2 separate regions of the Homo sapiens genome follow, and region 2 is linked to region 1. The links are contacts of gene promoters, found by promoter capture Hi-C in human tissues and cell types (Jung and others, 2019). All regions are on one chromosome and are shown on one strand. The core of a region is centred on a gene start or on the middle of the fragment in contact, and the rest is flanking DNA. Distances in the headings are between cores, read along the strand shown. Region 1 holds the start of DIP2C (disco interacting protein 2 homolog C). Region 2 has its middle 36 kb from the start of DIP2C.

What was found. The method cuts DNA at HindIII sites, captures the fragments that hold promoters and counts their contacts. A contact is called where the count stands out against the background at its distance.
Region 2: a contact is called between a fragment that was not itself captured here and the fragment with the promoter of DIP2C in region 1, in 2 of the 25 tissues and cell types used here (H1 embryonic stem cells and bladder).

What each region holds. Positions count from the first base shown.
Region 1 is chr10:688,299-690,996 of GRCh38, forward strand. DIP2C (disco interacting protein 2 homolog C) reads right to left here and starts at 1,370. Exons shown (of 37, transcript NM_014974.3): 1 at 1,196-1,370. The coding sequence starts at 1,280. RefSeq lists an enhancer at 1,745-2,680. The HindIII fragment of the contact is 17,538 bases long and covers 1-2,698 here.
Region 2 is chr10:724,014-726,711 of GRCh38, forward strand. No RefSeq gene overlaps it. Among named protein-coding and RNA genes, the nearest start is that of DIP2C, 36 kb to the left of the region's middle. RefSeq lists an enhancer at 1,792-2,292. The HindIII fragment of the contact is 7,237 bases long and covers 1-2,698 here.

The DNA.
Region 1 (2,698 bases), core at 120-2,619:
ATCTGAAACTGAAAAACAGTACCATTTCCCGTCCCCAGAAGTCTGGAAAGGCAGTTGGCTGCACACCATGGCCCCTGCTCACTCCCTTCTTTGCCCTGAAAGTGTTAAAAAGGAAAACATAAAGTCAACACCAGCTCCTCCCTGCCGGTGAAAATTGGCACGAATGAGTTTACTTTCTGGCTGCCGGCCCTCACAAAACCGTTACCCAAAAAAAGTTCACCATGCTAAACTGCTCCAAATATAAATGTGAGACGCGCCGGCCCACCCCCACCCCACCCCACGTTACAGGAATGGCCTGACCAGGATGAGCCCAGAGACGGCTAAATGCACATCAAACATTTCAGATTTGGGAACTTCAGTGGTTTTGGGGAAAAGACCTGGCAAAGCCCGATCTGAAACTTATGACAGTTGAGCACATGATCTCCGCCATGAAGAGCAAATAAGAGGCGTACACAACCCTCCATAAGACCGCGGTGGCTGATCTGCCACAAACCCTCCTACGAGAGGACCAGGACGGCAAGGCCGGAGCCCGGCCCGGGGGGAGGTTGACGATTCCGCCCAGCCCTCCCCGCGCAGCGCCCGCGAACAATGGGGGTGGGATCCCCCGGGCCGCGCCAGGACCGCTGCACGGCCTGAGCCACCAGAGATCGAACCCGGGGTCCAACGACAAGTTTCGCATTGAAATCTGGCCGGGCGTTCCAGGCCGAACCCGCCAGCGAGGAGGTGGCGCGCACCGCGCTGCTGCACCAAGGACGCCGCGGCTCCAGCGCAGAGCGCACGGGAAGGCCGATCCCGCCGGGCCCGCTGCATCCTGCGTCCCCGCGCGGCGCCCAGGCCCCACAGACACCCCCAGGGCGCGGGGGGATCGCGGCCCCACAAACATCCCAGGGCGCGGGGGATCGCGGCCCCACAAACACCCCCAGAGCGCGAGGGGATCCCAGGCCCCACAGACACCCCCAGGGCGCGGGGAATCGCGGCCCCACAAACGTCCCCAGAGCGCGGGGGATCGCGGCCTCACAAACGTCCCTAGGGCGCGGGGTCTGGGGGTCCGGGGGACGCGCACGCTCCGGGCTGGGGTCGCACCTCCCCCTCCGGGCCCGGCCCCCGCCCCGCCGCAGGCCCCGCGCCCCCAGCCCTCCGCGCGCGGCCCTCCCCGGTGACAGCGCGGCCCGGCCCGGGGCGGGGGCCCGGTTACCTTCCGACAGCTCCAGCTCCAGCTCGGCCAGGCGCGCCCGCACCTCCAGGGGCAGCGCCATGCCCTCCAGGCTGCGGTCCGCCATGCTCCGCGGGCGCCGCGCCCCGCACGGCCTCCTCTTTGTTCGCAGGCGGAGGTCTCGGCGGCTCCTCGCGCCCGGCGGAACCGCACCGAGGAGGAGGCGGCGGCGCGGGCGCGGGAGGCGGGCGGCGGGCGCGCAGGGACCTCCCTCCCCTCGGCGCCTCCTCAGCGCGGCCCCGCCACGGCCGCCTCGCGCGCCCCCGCGCCCCACGGTCCCCGGCCCGCCCCGCGCGCGCTCGGCCCCTCCCCGCAGGCGCTGCGGACCCGGACCCGGCCCTGCTGCTCTCGGCCCCGGCCCGGCGGGAGCGTCTCTGCGCGCGCGCGTCACGGGGCCGCGGGGGCAGGGCGCGCGCGCGCGGGGCGCGAGGACGCGCAGGAGCGGGAGCGCGCGGGGGGGCGCGCGGCCGCGTCGGCGAAGCGCGCGCTCCCGGGGGCGCGCTCGGGGGCGGGTTGGGGGCTCGGGGCCCGCGGGGCGGGGCGGGGCGGGGCGGTCTTGTCTGTCCTGGGCTCTGCGCGTCCAGCGGAGCCTGCGGGCCCGGCCCCAGAGCCTGGTCCACCCGGCTCCCTGCGAAAATCACGTCCTGGAGCCGCAGCTTGACGTCTGCGCGAAAACTCGCAGTGCCCCGGGTCTTGGAGGGCTGGTTTTTTGTTAATGAACATTTTAAGAGGCGGAGACGGAGCGCTAGGCTGGAAGTTTCGAATGCAACGACCAGCAGATGACCTTGAGCGACTCTGAGCCTTTGCCTGGAGGGTCAGTGTCCCCATCTGTGAAAAGGGGATGGGAAGACAAGGTTGGGTCACCTAATCTCCAAATGCCAGGTGGGCCCGAAAAGCCTGGCTCCAGCCCTCCCGGAACAGGCTGCAGGCCCCAGGGTTCCCACCGTCCTTCTCCTTGTGGGGCCATCAGCTCCCAGCCTCAGTGCCACCTCGGCGAGGCTGAAGCCCCGTCTGTGCCTCTAGTCCTGACCATCTGGGGAGGCCCTCGCATCTCCAACCGTCCACTGAGCAAACTTCCCTGGAAGCCCCTAGACACCCCAAACGCCACAAACCCTAAATGAAGCCAGCTGCTTCCAGTGACTCTTAGTCACTGGAAGTTCTGCTTCTCAGAACCGCCCCCGTTGTCTTCATCATCACCTTCCTCTGTCTCCACACATCCTCCCCAGTCTGTTGCACAAAGCCCCGACGACCTGGCCTCCTTTTCATCCTTGTACCCCCTCTTCCCAGCCCGGCCCCTCCCTTAGGCCCAGAGCTTCCTAAAGACCTCCTCGCCTCCCCGTCCTCCACGGGACATTGGCCAGCGCTGGCTCCCGGAGGCCCAGCTGCACTCACTCCCCTTTCAGAGTGGGCCGCAGGAACACAGGTCCCCCACCTCACCCCCCTACCCCTACCCCCCACCACCCCCCCACCCCGCTTCGACCGGAG
Region 2 (2,698 bases), core at 58-2,557, 36 kb after region 1:
GGTATCACTGTGTGGGAAAAGGTCACGCCATCATCACCACGCCCGGCGTCATGTGACAGGGATACAGTACGTGTCAGGGGTTTCACTGTGTGGGAAAAGGTCACGCCATCATCACCATGCCCAGCATCACGTGACATGGATACAGTACGTGTCAGGGGTACCACTGTGTGGAGAGATGGTCACGTGGCCAGGACGTAACAGACAGAACGTGGAATCCTGGGCTTTTGCTTCACACACAAGTGCTCTGTGTATCCATTCTCCCCTGAATTTGTCCACACGTTCAGTACATGTTTAGTGAGCACCTACTATGTGTTGGACACTGGTATTCAGCTCTGGGGATGCGGTGGTGGGAGACAGAGCCTCCGTCCCTCTGGACCCCCAACACCCCACAGTGCTCTCTGATCTCCCATTCTCTCGGATCAGTGTGTCCAGGTTCCTGCCACAAACCCACCCTGTGCAATCGGCTGCAGCAAGTCAGTTCAGCTGCCCGGTCCAGTCACTCCAGACGAAGCTCAGGGTGGCCGTCTGGCTGTTCTCAGACCCACGAAGGCCATGCTTCACTAAAGCAGACATCCTGCATCAATCTAGGAGGGGGTCCAATCTGTGTTGAGTGTTTACGTTATTTAATATCTAGGCAGGCGGGCGCAGTGGCTCACACCTGTAATCCCAGCACTTTTGGAGGCTGAAGCGGGTGGATCACCTGAGGTCAGGAGTTCGAGACTAGCCTGCCAATATGGTGAAACCACATCTACGAACAAATATTAAAAATAGCCGGTCATGGTGGCTCACGCCTGTAATCCCAGCACTTTGGGAGGCCAAGGCAGGCAGATCACCTGAGGTTGGGAGTTTGAGACCAGCCTGACCAACATGGAGAAATCCTGTCTCTACTAAAAATACAAAGTTAGTCAGGCGTGGTGGTGCATTCCTGTAATCCTAGCTTGGGAGGCTGAGGCAGGAGAATCGCTTGAATCTGGGAAGCAGAGGTTGTGGTGAGCTGAGATCATGCCATTGCACTGCAGCCTGAGCTACAAGATGGAAACTCCATCTCAATAAATAAATAAGCAAACAAAAAAATAGCTGGGCGTGGTCATGGGTGCCTGTAATCCCAGCTACTCAGGAGGCTGAGGCAGGAGAATCACTTGAGCCCAGGAGACTGAGGTTGCAGTGAGCCGAGATCTTGCCATTGCACTCCAGCCTGGACAACAAGAGCAAAACTCTGTCATAAAATAAATAAAATAAAATAAAATCTAGGCACATCAAACTTTTGTAGATGAAATTCCATCTTAATATAAACTTTCTATATAAATCCTTGGGTCGAGTAAAGAAAATAATTACCCGTTAACTTATTTGTTTTTGATATCTGGGTTTCAGAAGCTTAAAGGAAAACGTGCTGGTGCATTTCCTCTATGTTTAGAAACCTGTAGTATTCCTAGGAGGGGTAGAAGCATCTCCAGCTCTTTCAGAAACTCCTGCAAGATGAGATCAGTTCCGGGGCTGGGCTGGCGTCGGCCTGCAATGGGAGGGCCGTGGATGGAGCCAAATACGAGTTCTACCTGGATTTATGTTGATGAAACACACGCTTTCTGATGTAGCCTCCAGTCCTTGTTCGATTGTGGAGGGTCCTGGATGTTTAACAGCACAGTGCCGGCCCCAAGGGTCCCAGGGCCTGCCGACCACCAGCCCTTCCCAGGGCCAGGCAGCAGCCCTGCCCAGAGCCCAGCAGGGTGTGTCTGGAGCCCACCCAGCAGCTGCCCCGGACCCGAATATTCTGCCTGCAGATCCTGGGAAAGCACCACTCCCTGCTTTGGGTGTCTGCATGTTCATAGCACGTTCTCGCTGACATTACTCTGCAGGAAAAGCCCTAGCTGAGAGGCGCAGAAGGCGGGTGCGGCCCCCTCCCTGGTCCTCCCTGTGGGCGCTGCCCAAGCCTCAGCCCTATGTTTCACCAGGCCCAGCCCACATCCCTGCTGGCCTCTGAAGTCCCATCGGCCCCACCCTCCCTGACTTCCTCAGCCTTTCACTGTCCTGGTCTTCGCCTTTTCCCTCATTTCCCGAGCTGCTGTGCAGTGGAAACACTGACTGTGTCTGATCTACTCAAAACAGCATATTTCAGCTCACATTCATCAAAACGCAGCGTCATGCCTAGGAACTGAGGGTGTGGAGGGGATGTGCCCGGGCCGAGCATGTCCTCATGGCCAGCAGCTGTGGGGCAGACACCAGCCACCTCCAGGACTGAGCAAGACCACAACCCTCCCTGGTGAAGCTGCTTACCCTGAGACGAGCCTCACCCAGCCCCATGACGACGGCCACCCTGTGTTCTCCCATATTCATTCATGCACCCGTCGGCTCACCCGTCCACTCACAAGCACCGTATGGTTCACGCACCTGTCGGCTCACCCGTCCACTCACAAGCACCGTATCGTTCACGCACCCGTCGGCTCACCCGTCCACTCACAAGCACCGTATCGTTCACGCACCCGTCGGCTCACCCGTCCACTCACAAGCACCGTATCGTTCACGCACCCGTCGGCTCACCCGTCCACTCACAAGCACCGTATTGTTCACGCACCCGTCGGCTCACCCGTCCACTCACAAGCACCGTATGGTTCACGCACCCGTCGGCTCACCCGTCCACTCACCAAGCACCGTATCGTTCACGCACCCGTCGGCTCACCCGTCCATTCACCAAGCACCGTAT